5 separate regions of the Homo sapiens genome follow, and regions 1, 2, 3 and 5 are each linked to region 4. Evidence: promoter capture Hi-C in 16 types of primary human blood cells and fetal thymus (Javierre and others, 2016). All regions are on one chromosome and are shown on one strand. The core of a region is centred on a gene start or on the middle of the fragment in contact, and the rest is flanking DNA. Distances in the headings are between cores, read along the strand shown.

What was found. The method cuts DNA at HindIII sites, captures the fragments that hold promoters and counts their contacts. A CHiCAGO score of 5 or more calls a contact.
Region 1: a fragment that was not itself captured here is called in contact with the fragment with the promoter of GPHN in region 4 in 2 of 17 cell types (naive B cells and total B cells); the score reaches 6.7 in naive B cells.
Region 2: a contact is called between a fragment that was not itself captured here and the fragment with the promoter of GPHN in region 4, in 4 of 17 cell types (M2 macrophages, M1 macrophages, M0 macrophages and 1 more). The highest score is 8.5, in M2 macrophages.
Region 3: a contact is called between a fragment that was not itself captured here and the fragment with the promoter of GPHN in region 4, in 10 of 17 cell types (total B cells, naive B cells, M1 macrophages and 7 more). The highest score is 9.3, in total B cells.
Region 5: a contact is called between the fragment with the promoter of GARIN2 here and the fragment with the promoter of GPHN in region 4, in 10 of 17 cell types (M0 macrophages, naive CD8 T cells, monocytes and 7 more). The highest score is 11.8, in M0 macrophages.

Annotation. Positions count from the first base shown.
Region 1 is chr14:67,307,199-67,309,898 of GRCh38, forward strand. All of the region lies in intron 8 of PALS1 (protein associated with LIN7 1, MAGUK p55 family member), which reads left to right. It also overlaps a transcript of GPHN not described here. Among named protein-coding and RNA genes, the nearest start is that of ATP6V1D, 51 kb to the right of the region's middle. The HindIII fragment of the contact is 7,273 bases long and covers 1-2,700 here.
Region 2 is chr14:67,164,323-67,167,022 of GRCh38, forward strand. It overlaps GPHN (gephyrin), which reads left to right. Exons shown (of 23, transcript NM_020806.5): 20 at 840-904. The region is part of intron 1 of LOC105370538 (a long non-coding RNA gene); the gene reads right to left. Among named protein-coding and RNA genes, the nearest start is that of GARIN2, 24 kb to the right of the region's middle. The HindIII fragment of the contact is 5,581 bases long and covers 1-2,700 here.
Region 3 is chr14:67,223,839-67,226,538 of GRCh38, forward strand. GARIN2 (golgi associated RAB2 interactor family member 2) reads left to right here. Exons shown (of 8, transcript NM_001395907.1): 8 at 1-102. It also overlaps a transcript of GPHN not described here. Among named protein-coding and RNA genes, the nearest start is that of PALS1, 16 kb to the right of the region's middle. The HindIII fragment of the contact is 7,967 bases long and covers 1-2,700 here.
Region 4 is chr14:66,506,637-66,509,407 of GRCh38, forward strand. GPHN (gephyrin) reads left to right here and starts at 1,511. Exons shown (of 23, transcript NM_020806.5): 1 at 1,511-1,955. The coding sequence starts at 1,892. RefSeq lists silencers at 1,556-1,745, 2,096-2,245 and enhancers at 2,336-2,495, 2,746-2,771. The HindIII fragment of the contact is 4,318 bases long and covers 1-1,633 here.
Region 5 is chr14:67,188,126-67,190,825 of GRCh38, forward strand. GARIN2 (golgi associated RAB2 interactor family member 2) reads left to right here and starts at 1,315. Exons shown (of 8, transcript NM_001395907.1): 1 at 1,315-1,444. It overlaps LOC105370538 (a long non-coding RNA gene), which reads right to left and starts at 1,239. Exons shown (of 5, transcript XR_007064215.1): 1 at 1,108-1,239. It also overlaps a transcript of GPHN not described here. The HindIII fragment of the contact is 22,924 bases long and covers 1-2,700 here.

The DNA of each region.
Region 1 (2,700 bases), core at 32-2,531, 800 kb after region 4:
GAAATGCATACATTATTCAAACGTACAGTTTCCTTCTCTCGGCCTTTTTAAAAAAAGGAAGGATTGGATTTCCCAGACTAGTTTGTAAAACTTTAGATTATTCTATACTATAATAATATGTAGGGAGGGCATAATAGACTTTTATCTGAATGGGACTTTTTCATTTAGTCTAATGCCATAATCTAACAAGGAGTGTATTTAAATGAAGAAGGATCACATCGCTTATTAGTTACAGAATATGTACCAGAAAATTAACAGATTATTGATTGTTTAATACATATAAGCTATTATTATGATTATGTACTCTGTGCCAGGCACTACAGAGATAACTGTGTTGTAAAGAAAAGTTGAGAACCACTGCTATCAAATACATTGCTTTCCCATTATAGGTATAAAAATGTATTAATAAAGACATTTATTTCTTGGTGGATGTGGGGAAAGGAGAAATTCTAGTGTTGTGTGGAGATACTTAAAAACTTGCTTGGTGCTATAAAGGCTTTCCTTGACTCACTTTCACTATTTTCTCTTCTACAATGAACTTTAAGAGTTAAAGATAAATCTGCGATAGTAAGAGATACAGAAATAAAAATTACAAAGAAAAATATTTTGGTAGCAGAGATGTGGAATCAACCTAAATGCCCATCGATGATAGATTCGATAAAGAAAATGTGGTATATATACACCATGGAATACGAATGCAGCCATAAAAAAATGAGATCATATCCTTTGCAGGGACATGGATGGAGTTGGAGGCCATTGTCCTTAGCAAACTAACACAGGAACAGAAAACCAAAAACCACATGTTCTCTTACATGTGGGAGCTAAATGATGAGAACACGTGGACACATAAAGGGGAACAACACACACTAGGGTCTTTCAGAGGGTAGAGGGCAGGGGGAGGGAGAGGATCAGGAAAAGTAACTAATGGGTACTAGGCTTAATACCTGGGTGATGAAATAATCTGTACAACAAACCCCCAACACACAAGTTTACCTATGTAACAAACCTGCAGTTGGATCCCTGAACTTAACAGTTTAAAAAAAAAAAAAGTCAGTGTAAAAAGTATAAAAGCCAACCTAATACTTAGACAATAGAAAAGGGAAAAACCAAACTTCCTTTTTTTTTTTTTTCTTTTTTTTCTCTTTGATTTTGAGGGCGTCACCAATGTGATAGCCTTACCTTCATGAGTACTAACCTTTCCATTAAGCTAATCCCAAAGTTGTCTCCCAAGTACACTGTCCAGGTGGTTGTGGCAAATTTATACTTTTCCAAAGGAGTGTCCATTGAGCAAGTGGAATATAGATCCTGAGTTTTAGATCAGCACTCTCCAAATATTTTTTTCTTTTTCTTTTTTTTTTTTTTTTGGAGACAGAGTTTCACTCTGTTGTCCAGGCTGGAGTGCAATGGTGCCATCTTGGCTCACTGCAACCTCCGCCTCCTGGGTTCAAGTGATTCTCCCGCCTCAGCCTCCCAAGTAGCTGGGATTACAGCTACCCTGTACCGTGTACAAGTACCATCTACTGTGCCACCAGCTAATTTTGTTTTATACCTTTATCAATTAAAAAACATTGAACATGTCCCCTCCCATATTGTATATATATGTACTACTCTACTTACTATCCCAAATTACAATATAGGACAAGTTTTATTAATAAGTAATTCTAATAGCCTTCTTGATTGGTTGAAAAACAATATTTTGGAACATTGGATCCCTAAAAAACATGTAAATAAACTGATGAATCATTATCCCTGTACCCTATCCCCATTTCATCATTACGACTTCAAATGTGAACAGCTTATAGATATTAAAAAAAGGAAAAAGAAAATGTTGGGCTGGAAGATAATTGCGTCCAAACAGTTCTACAATTTGAAATGTAAACAGAAGATTTTGTTTTGTTCAGAAGCCAAATACTGTTTTGATCAGATATACTGTTCTGATATTATTATAGCATTATGAGGCCCTGGACCTTTCCTATGAGGGTCAGCTTATCTCCTTCATTTTAAAGGGGCTTTTTTTGTTGTATGAGAAACAAAATAATTTTGACACTAGCAGGAAAGATTGGTGGAGATAACTTCTAGAACTGGTAAGAATTAATCAGTGGAATATATGGATAAAAGTCATATAGTATCTGTTAAGGCAATACCCAGACTTTAACTCATTCAAATCATTAATTTTTCAGATGTGAAATAAATTTTCCTTAGGAAAAATTAATAAGAGCCTTTTCCTCTTAATTTTAGGAAAGTAAGAGCTTTTTCTCTTAATTTTAGGGTATATTTTAGATGGGACTAGAGAAACTTGTCACATAAGTAAAGCATGTTCTCTTCCCAGCCTACACAAAGAGGGGCCCTGTTCCAAGCCAGTTAAATTAGAATAGTTAAGGGATGAGAACTGCATAGGCAAGAGTACATGGAAAAGCATCTCTGGGTGATTTTGTTGGCCTATGGCAATGGTCATAAATGTAGATATTCCCTCCTCACGGGTCTTAATTTCTCTCAGGGTAGTAGTTCCCTAAGATTGCTGTACCTAATAATTACCCAAGGAACCTGATTAAAATTCAGAGTCTGAGAGTCTGAGGTGCGGCATGAGAATTCATCATTTTAATAAACATCCTAGGCAGGTGATCTGAGCAAAAACACTTTGAAAAACAACATACTGGGTAGGCTTTCAGAAAGTGATTTGATAAAATTGTCAATCAAGAT
Region 2 (2,700 bases), core at 173-2,672, 660 kb after region 4:
TATTTATTTTGATATTTCAAAAATAATGTCTTGATAAGAGGGAAGTGTTTATGTCTATGCTAAGGATAGTTTTAAAAGGCTAATACAGAAGGAGCAGGATTGAAAGAAAAAGGTTAAAAAATACTCATTTTGAACAATAGGCAACTGTCTGATAGACATATTATCAGGTAATCTGCTTTCTTTTTTTTTGAGATGGAGTCTTGCTCTGTCGCCCAGGCTGGCGTGCAGTGGCCATCTCAGCTCACTGCAACCTCTGCCTCCCAGGTTCAAGCGATTCTCCTGCCTCAGCCTCCCGAGTAGCTGGGATTACAGGCGCACACCACCATGCCTGGCAAATTTTTGTATTTTTAGTAGAGACAGGGTTTCACCATGTTGGCCAGGCTGGTCTCAAACTCCTGACCTCAAGTGATCCACCCCCCTCAGCCTCCCAAAGTGTTGGGATTACAGGTGTGAGCCACCATGCCTGGCCAGTCTTCTGCTTTTAAGAATGATTGTTGTAAATCGCCAGCAAAAGTAGTATAAACATTATTAACTAGAGGGGTGGGAAAACTTGGAAACTCCAAGATTTGGAGTACATTTCTATGGCACTGGCAAGAAAAAAAAAAAAAGTAAGTAGTTTTCTTTAAACCAGAAAGTGTGGTTACTTGAAAACAGGAAATACTAAAAACAAACTTATTTAAGTGTCTGTGGAATACTTCAGAGTATAAAGATGTAAAGGCAAGTCAACAGAAAAGTGTTTTTTATATGATAAGTGTATGGATTACAAAAACACTGGAGTACTTAATGTATTCATCATATTGCTTAGCAATCACTAACAAGTGACTCTTTTTTTCTTCTAGCTTGCCAACAACATTTGCAACTTTGGATATTGATGGTGTAAGAAAAATAATCTTTGCACTACCTGGTAAGAATAACAAATTGTTTCCTTTCCTTTTTCTGGAAAAATAGCCAAAATTTTTTGGACTTCTCATGTGACCACCTGGTTTGAAATCTGAAAGACCTGGGCTCAAGTCTCAGCTTTTCTAAACGACCAATCACTTAACCTCTCTAGGAAGTTTCTTCACCTATAAAATAAGACTAATATCTACTTCATAGGGTTGGTGTGAAAGTCAGATTAGATAATATATATCAAAGCACATTCCAAATCCTATCAAAGCACATTCCAAATCCTAAGATGATCATCAAGTGTTAGCTGTCACTAGATCTTTCTGGAGCACCTGCTTTTTCCTTACAGGAAATTGGTCGAAGTTAGCAGCCGAATACCTCTCATAACCAGAAGTATTGTGCTCTAGAGGCCAAAATGCCTTGAGTCACCCAAGCAAATACCAAATCAAAAAATACAAAGCTGCCTCTGGTCCTTGCCAGATTTGGGCTGGTTGAGGGGAGGGGGAAGAGGAAAGGCCAGGCTACTGGAACTAGTGCTTCTCAGCCAAATCCTACTCATCATCAGTCTACAACTTCCCCACTCCCACCCTTGTCCCAACGTGAGCAGAAACTCACATGTTCAGATTATAGAAAGAGCAAAGCAGGTTCAGTTCACGATGATTTTCAAATTCAAATTTTTTGTGATTTGGGGTTATATAAAGTCATGGTGAATCTTGATAAATTTTAAAATAATTTATTGTGCATCTTTTTTTTAACTTTAAAATTATCTTCTGATCATTCTGTTCAGTTCTCTATTTTTTGGCACAGATTCCTTTAGAAAATAACCTATTTCTTTAAGATTTACAAATCTCATGGCTTTTGGATCTTTGTTTGTTTTTTAGGTCAAGTATATCTCAAAATGGAAATGTAAAGAAATGGAAGCAGGCAGAAAAATGTTAAACTTTGAAAACATTTTAAGCCCCTATCTATAAGCATAAAAGAGATTAGATTTCTATCATGTAGAAAATTTTCAGAGAGAGAACATTTAAGTAAAATAGTCCTCAGAATGTATCTGTAACATGAAACGCCTTAGGACCTTTCATAATTCCTTGGATGCTCTGATAGCCATTGTATAAAGAAATGTGCTCCTTTTCCTAGCTTCATTTAGCCTGGAAGAGCCTCTTTTGTCTACGGAAGATATGACTTAACCTACAGACCATCAGTGATATTATAACAAAGAATGTTACTGTGGGAGCCTATTTCACCATTATGCCAAAGATGTTATAAAATTAAAACCTGTTTTCAAATTCCTACTTTTAATTTGAAACCTTATCTGCTCAGCCTGAGTGAACCAACAGAGGGCAGCAGAAACTCACATGTTCAGATTGTAGAATGTGCAAAGTGGTTCCATTTACAAGGATTTTCTTTCTTGTTTTTGTTGTTATTGGTTTTGTTTGTTTTTTGTGTTTTGTGTTTTTTGTTTGTTTGTTTGTTTGTTTTTGAGACAAGGTCTGGCTCTGTCGCCCAGGCTGGAGTGCAGCAGCGCGATCTCAGCTCACTGCAACCTCTGCCTCCTAGGCTCAAGCCGTTCTCCCACCTCAGCCTCCCAGGTAGCTGGGACTATAGGCGCTTGCTACCACCCCTGGCTAATTTTTGTATTTTTTGTAGAGACGGGGTTTCACCATGTTGCCCGGGCTGGTCTCAACTTCTGAGCTCAAGCCATCCACCTGTCTCAGCGTCCCAAAGTTTTGGGATTACAGGCATGAGCCACCATGCGCAGCTTTACAAGGATTTTCAATTTCAAAAGTGTATTTCTGCTTTCCTGTAGGCCATGCG
Region 3 (2,700 bases), core at 33-2,532, 720 kb after region 4:
CACTTTTACTCTCACTTAACACCCTGTACCCCAAGAAAAGCAAAGACTGGCTGAATCTTAATACCTCATTTTATTAAATGTAATTGGAGTACAAATTAAAAATGAGTCCGTAATTCTAATTTATATTATAGGCGGAAATCAGAATAATAACTGCTCCCCATAGTAGTAAAACAAATTCCTGGCATTATTAAGCTCATCTGATTCACATTCACCCAGCAATGCTAGTTAGGGACCATGATCTCAAATTCATCTCTCAAACCTCTCAGCAGTTTGCGAAAGTTAAATTTTTTTTCTCCTTTTCTGCATAAGGTTTTGGGATAAAGTGGCACTTCAAATGCACTGTTTTTATGACAACTTTATGCATGAAATAGGGTCCAGGTTAAATTTGTCTCTCTGGATCTGAGTTCATTTCTCTCTTTTCTTTTTTTTTTTTTTTTTGAGACAGAGTCTTACTCTGTCGCCCAGGCTGGAGCGCAGTGGCACGATCTCAGCTCACTGCAACCTCCGCCTCCCAGGTTCAAGCGATTCTCTTGCCTCAGTCTCCCGAGTAGCTGGGACTACAGATGCGTGCCACTATGCCTAGCTAATTGTTTTTGTATTTTTAGTAGAGATGGGGTTTCATTGTGTTAGCCAGGATGGTCTCAATCTCCTGACCTCATGATCCGCCCACCTCAGCCTCCCAAAGTGCCAGGATTACAGACATGAGCCACTGTGCCCGGCCCCATTTCTCTACTTTCTTAGCTTTAAGTTTTTACCTTTCTAGGCTTTATTCTCCTTAACTTTTAAATTTTTTTTTTTACAGTGAGCCCAAATTATGGGCTTATCTCTGATTCTTTGATATTTTTTCCAAGATGAAAAGAGACAAAGGATAGAGATTCAAGAAAAGAAGAGAAAGAAAAATCACATAAAATATTGGGAGTTTCCTTCCTACCCTTACCCATCTTTCTTTTCCATGTTCCTCTTAAATATTACAAACCAAATTCCTTGGAATCCTAAGCAGCCAGGTTCATTCTTTGTTTATAAAACCCAGGCTTAATAAAAAAGGAGGGAGCCCTCTAAAAGGGAACCTGCTTGTGAAATTCAACAATAAGCTCCATTGCAAAGAATAAATACATTTTTGATGAGGTGGTTAGAACATAATCTGAATTTAATATTCAAAATAAGCTCTTTCTCCTTCTGTGCCTTTTTTTTCCTCCTGCTTTTGGCTTTTTTTCTTTCTCACTTCCTCTCTATTGATCTCTCCTTTACTTTCCTTATTCTTTTTCTTTTTTCCCTCTAGTTCTCTCCCCTCATATCAAATCTCCTTCTAATTTCCTCAAACTTGTGCCTCATCTGTCTGCCCCTTTCTCAAGGGAATGAATGTGAGGAAAGAAAAGTAAAACAGAAAAAGACAAAGTTGATGGAAAAACATGTAAGACAAACTAAAGGTAACTTTTTAATTATAAGTCTCTATAGGAATACATGATAGCTATGATACTGTCACACAAAAAAGTTGTTAATAAGTGGGATCTTTTAACATTAAATCTTATTCTACTGTAGTAACAATATAAGTGGAATGAAATGTTAGGGGTTTGTTGTGGTTTCTGCTCTAGAATCCATCATGGGTCAAAAGATAACATCAGCACAGGGAGGAGGAGAGAGGGCTTCAGGTGAGGCACTGGAAGAGAATTATGTGCTGCACTACCATAGCGATTCTTCTCATTTCTGTACTTCTTTGTAACCTTATCATGCTCTTTCCCAACCTGCTTTTTAGATCAGCCAATACAATCAAGACCTCTTTTTTTTCATAGCAAAATGATACAGATATTCGTAGAGTGCCTGCAGGGCTGTCATGTACAGTTATGTAGCTTGTACACACCATACACACTGTAGTTTATGTGCAATTCATAATCTGCACAGCTGTATAGGGTGGCCCTGGCCTACTGTATTCTAAGTTTGTTCGAAACACCAGCTCTGCAGTGCGTTGCTGAAAAATGAAACTTCTCTCAGCCATGATAACAACACCCAGTAGCACAGAAAGAGTGGAAGCAATGCAATTTTAGGGCCATTGTGTCTTCTGTTGCCTCCTTCATAAAGCTAATGCTGTGAGTGTGTGTGTGTGTGTGTGTGTGTGTGTGTGTGTGTGCGCGCGCGCGCGTGCGCATGCGCGTGCATGCTCATAAGGGCTGAGTTCACAGTATTGAAGGGGGGAGGTTGGTGGACCACGGGTGGCCTGGGCAGTAACCCCTTGCCCATCTTGGCAGGGCCTTGCTGATGGAATCAAGGTGCTCACTCTTCTGTCCACCCTTCTGTCACTCTGCCACCAAAGCCAGCTTAGCACTTGAGCATTTTGTTTATTTACTTGTTTATTTATTTTTATTTTTATTTTTTTGAGACTGAATCTTGCTCTGTCGCCCAGGCTGGAGTGCAGTGGCGCAATCTTGGCTCACTGCAACCTCTGCCTCCTGGGTTCAAGTGGTTCTCATGCCTCAGCCTCCTGGGTAGCTGGGATTACAGACAAGCACCACCACAACCAGCTAGTTTTTTTTGTTTTGTTTTTTTGAGACGGAGTCTCGCTCTGTCACCAGGCTGGAGTGCAGTGGCACAATCTTGGCTCACTGCAACCTCTGCCTCCTGGGTTCAAGAGATTCTCCTGCTTCAGCCTCCCAAGTAGCTGGGACTACAGGTGCACACCATCACACCTGGCTAATTTTTGTATTT
Region 4 (2,771 bases), core at 261-2,760:
TAAGCACGTGAATCTTCAGAGGATGGGTAATTTCATGTTCCAACGGAACAATAAAAAACTCATAATCGGCCAGGCACGGTGGCTCACACCTGTAATCCCAGCACTTTGGGAGGCCAAGGCGGGCGGGTCACGAGGTCAAGATCTTGATCGAGACTATCCTGGCCAACATGGTGAAACCCCGTCTCTACTAATAATACAAAAATTAGCTGGGTGTCGTGGCACGCGCCTGTAGTTCCAGCTACTCGGGAGGCTGACGCAGGAGAATCGCTTGAACCTGGGAGGCAGAGGTTGCAAGTGAGCCGAGATCGCGCCACTGCACTGGAGCCTGGCGACAGAGCGAGACTCCGGATCAAAAAAAACCAAAACCAAAACCAAAAAAAAACCTATCAAAGTGACTTTGAAATTTGTGTATAAACACTGATATACATCTTTTAATACTTTGCTTTTCACTTTTATGCCTCCAGGTTACTACAGCTAAGAAGAGAAAACATATACATATGAGTGTGTGTACACACACACACACGCATATAACTTTTTAAAATTCAGAAGTTGAAAGGTCCAGAACGATAGTAAGAAACTAACGTAGAATAGCCACAGGTGATTAATAACACGTTTCATGAAAGGCACATGGAAATAAATGGCAACAAAAGCTACTTTCATGGTAATCTCACATCCCACGAATACTGAAATGAAAATCGCCGCGGCAATGGACTGTGGTTCAGGTGGAACACGTTCTCGTTCGCTAAGGAGATTGATGCTTTTCATCTAAAAGCAGCGCTCATGGCGAAGAGGCTTAAGGCCACAAAACCGTGGGACAGCAGGAGGAAGAGAAGCCAGGTATCTCCACTCCAGCTGCCCTGCCTCAGACTCCTCAGTTTCGCACGTGAGGATCGTCTTGCAGGCACTGACTGGAGATGGAATCCTAAAGCATAGGTGAAGCGGAAATCCTCCTTCAGGGAGAGCCCACTGAGGAAGCCAGCGGCTAGCACGAGGCAGGACAGGATACCTCCCTCTTCGCCCACGGCGGCCTCTCTGTCATAGTAGCCACCGTTCTGCCACTCATGCAGCTTTCTAAGACACCTCTCGGTTCCCCAGCGCTTTCAGTGGGGCGGCCGGCCATTCCCGAGGGTTGCAAGAGGAGGCCCGGGGTGCTGAGCCAGCCTCGCTGCCCCCGCGTAGAAAGCCGGCCCGCCGGCGAGAGCCAGCCTAAGGCGCGGACAACCAACGAGGTGTCAGGCTCGGCAGGGGATTGCTTCTGTCTGGGGCCCGGCCGAGGTTGCGTTCGTGCCTCGCGCGCACACGCTCCGCGTTCACTCAGCCAATCCGGTGCTACTCGCGCGCCCAGGAGCGATCCGCGGTCCTACTCAGGCTGGGCCGGCTCCTTCCCGCTCCCAATACTCAGCACCCGAGCTCTCACTCCTCCCCTCACTCTCCACGAGTTCCACGCCTAGGGGTGTAGCTCCGCCCTTGTCCCCGAGTCCGCCCCCGCAACCTCCAGAGCGTGTGCTATCCTTTCCTCTCAGTCCTGCCATCTAGCTGCCTTGGGTCTCGCGCTCCGCAGAGCGTTCCGACACTCTCCGGCCTCGTTCTGCCGCCTCCGCGCGCTCTCCCCGTGCGGCCACCGCGCCCCCCAAGCTTGCCTCCTTCTTGCCGGACTTGGGGCCGCGCGCCCTGACTCCTTCCCCTCCCGCGGACCCGCGCACTCCCGGCGCGGCCTCTCCCCCACGCAGGCCACCGTGCACTCTGTGGCCTCCCCCTCCTTCCCCGCTCTCCTCGCGCTTCTCTGGCTCCCTAGCTGTCGCGCTCTCCTCGGCGAGCGCGCTCCCGGCCCGCGCGCTCCGGGCTCCGGTTTCTCCCGGCTCCTGTCAGTGCGGTGACTGCGCTGGGAAACATGGCGACCGAGGGAATGATCCTTACTAACCACGACCATCAAATCCGTGTCGGAGTCCTTACAGGTAACCGGGGGAGGAGGTCTGGGACCTATGAGGCTGCTGTCCCTGCATTGCCTTAGGCTTTTCGCCTGTGGTGGCCCTTCTCTGCGGCCTCGGGAGGAGGGAAGGCTGAAGAAGGGAACCGCGGGGGTGCATTTTACAACCGCTGAGAACCGCCGGAGATTGGGGGTGTTCCCGCGGGTCCCCTCCCCCAGGCCCCAGGAGCCGGGGTCGACCCCGTGGGATGTTAGGCCCCAGCGCCTTCGGAAGCAAAGTCCTGGGCCCCCGGGGACCGAGGGGCCGGTGCGGAGGGCGCTGCGGGGCTCCGCGCTGTCGGTGCAGGCGGCGGGATCCCGGCTCCGCAGTCTGAAGCATGCCGCTCTCGGCTGGCCTGGGCGCATCCTCCGCTAGTGCTCTTCAGAGAGAGGGGGGAATCCCATCTCCACCCCCTTCCTCTCCTTCCCTTCCCCCCACCTGGGCGGCCCCACGCCAGTATCTGTGCTTGCCTGGACGAGACTCAGGTGTTAATCAGATGAAACTGCTCCTCCTCGGGTTGTCCCTCGCGGGCCGGGCGTCCCCTCAGCCACCCATGGGGCACCCTTCGCCTCCCTCGGGGGATGGGGGATCGGCTTGCGTCCGGACCTCGGAAAGTGTCTGCCTTCTGCCTTTCCGCGCAAAAGGCCCTCTGTCTGCCTCGTCGTTTCCTTAGCGAGGACGGGCTGCAGCCTGCTGCCGGGGATCCAGCTTTTTACTTGAGAGGGCAGGATTCCCCTACTCGGGCTCCTCTCCCCCTCCTTTCTGGGAACCCCCACCCCGGTAGAGCGTCCCGAGGCTGGTGAG
Region 5 (2,700 bases), core at 65-2,564, 680 kb after region 4:
TCCCATGCAGGCGTGAATAGGCAGGCCCATCTCATGAGGGACAAAGAGGGCTAATTGCTCACGGACCTCACTTTGACAAAGTGCCACAAATTCAGACTTACAATCTCCAAATGAAGTTATACATACAGTTTTATATTTTGTGCATCTTTAAAAGCATTTTAAAGACGCTTTTGAAGGTAAATATTTTAAATATACCATTATTTTTATTTCCTTCTTTTGGTATTTCTTCTCTTTTTAATGTATCAGTAGCCTCAAAAAATGGACGTGAGATAATACCAAAGTTTAATCAAGGTACCGCAGAATTAAATTGATATCATCAACAGTTAAGAGATGAGATCAGATCTATGCAAAAATATTTTCTGGCCCTTGGGCAGGAAGAACAGGAACATGGCAAGTTGTGATCATGCAATAAGTATGCTCAATGAAGAAATCTTACTCAGTGGGACTATAGGTATGACCAGAGGAAGAATTTGTCCATCCAAAAGATGGCACTCAACATAGAATAGGCGAAACAGAGCATCTGAGACAATAACAGGGGAACCACTCGGACAAGTGCAGAAAGAGACTCAGCCAATCAAGTGCATTGAACCACCACCAGAGCCTAATATCATTAAATATTCATGCTATACAGCCCTCGGCTCAGTTTCTTTTCCTTCCTTCCTTCCTTCCTTCCTTCCTTCTTCCTTTCTTTTTCTTTTTCTTTCTTTCTTTCTTTTCTTTCTTTTTCTTTCTTTTTCTTTCTTTCAATAGAAATGGGGTATCACTGTGTTGCCCAGGTTGGTCTCAAACTCTTGGGCTCAAACAATCCTCCTGCCTTGCTCTTCCAAAGTGCTGGGATTGCAGGCATGAGCCACTGCGCCCGGCCTCAGCTCTGTTTCTAAGCAGTTTCCCTCTAAAAATGCTATATTCTTTTAACGCTTTTCTTCACAGAGGCTCAAAGTGCCTTAAATATGTTTAAGTCTCTGAAACTTGGGATATAGGGAAAGTGAATAATAAATTATCAATTGTATGATCAATGATGTAAAGTCTGATATTTTTCCCGTGGTTATACTATTGCTAAATTGACTTTTCTCTCCAAGAAATCCTCTGAAAACTTCACACCACCACCTGAATGCCCACTCCTGAGCGGTCCGGTCAGGGCTCCATGGGAATGCTGACCACACTTCCTCTCAGGGGCAGACCTGCACGGCTGCTCCTCCCCAGTGCCGTTCTTCTCTTACTGCAGAGACTATGTCAGCACGTTATGATTATGATGCAGCAGCAACAGAACAATGCCCAGAGCAGCCTGGCCTGTGCTTCTTTTACTAAGTGGTTAGTTGCCTGCTGAGTAGACATAAACACCTGCTAAAGAAATGTGAAAAGAGTGGAAACGTGCTATTTGGAGGTTATTTTCCTAGTCGACATCCAGGAGATCTCCAGAGATCTATTTCAGCCCCACCTGTTGGTAAGTGACTGTCTCATTACTGCAACTTGGGTTTGAAACTGAAGGAGAAGGAAATGAATAGTTCAATTAATTCTGGTAATTCGAGGGCAGAATGTCTATTTTTTTCCATCTTCCTCTTCTCCTTCTAGTTTCATTTCTTCTACCTCAACCAGAACAAGCTGAAAAGCCGAGAGACTTAACACCTGGTGACTGCTTTTCTTTTTCTTAGAAATAATTTCATTGAGAGTTTGAGTTTGAAATGAAAGCATGTTTTCTGGATTTTTTTTAATTTTTTTTTTTTTTTTTTTTTGAGACAGAGTCTCGCTTTGTCACCCAGGCTGGAGTGCAATGGCACGATCTTGGCTCACCACAACCTCTGCCTCCTGGGTTCAAGTGATTCTCCTGCCTCAGCCTCCCGAGTAGCTGGGATTACAAGTGTGTGCCATCACGCCCAGCTAATTTTGTATTTTTTTTTTAAGTAGAGACAGGGTTATAGGCATCGCCCATCATGCCCAGCTAATTTTTTTTTTTTTTTTTTTTGTATTTTTGTAGAGACAGGGTTTCACATGTTGGCCAGGCTGGTCTTTAACTCCTGACCTCAGGTGATCTACCTGCCTCAGCCTCCCAAAATGCTGGGATTACAGGCGTGAGCCACTGTGCCCAGCCTTTTGTTCTTTTCTTTTTTTTTTTTTTGAGACACAGTTTCACTCTGTTGCCCAGGCTGGAGTGCAGTGGCACGATCTCGACCCACTGCAACCTCCACCTCCCAGGTTCAAGCCATTCTCGTGCCTCAGCCTCCCAAGTAGCTGGGACTACAGGTACACACCACCATGCCTGGCTAATTTTTGTAATATTAGTAGAGACAGGGTTTCGCCATTTGGCCAGGCTGGTCTCGAACTCCTGACCTCAAGAGATCCACCTGCCTTGGCCTCCCAAAGTTCTGGGATTACAGGCGTGAGCCGTTGTGCCCGGCCTGTTTTGAAATTTTGATTTTTCAGACTGTTATCCCAATTTTTTCTTCCATAAGAAAAAATTCTCAAAGACTGAGAATTGAGTAAATTTTGGGGGAAACAGCCCTTTTTAATTACTCAAATATTTCAAAGATTCAGAACACAAGGCTTTCTCTTCAAAGCTGAAAGGTTGGGCATGGGGATATCATTTTCAAGAGATAGAAGCCACAACAGTTAGACTCCTGCAAAGGTGCAACCAGAACTGCAACCTAGAATTGTGCTGGACCTAGCCTAAAAATATGTTTATTAGTATAGTAAGAATCTTGG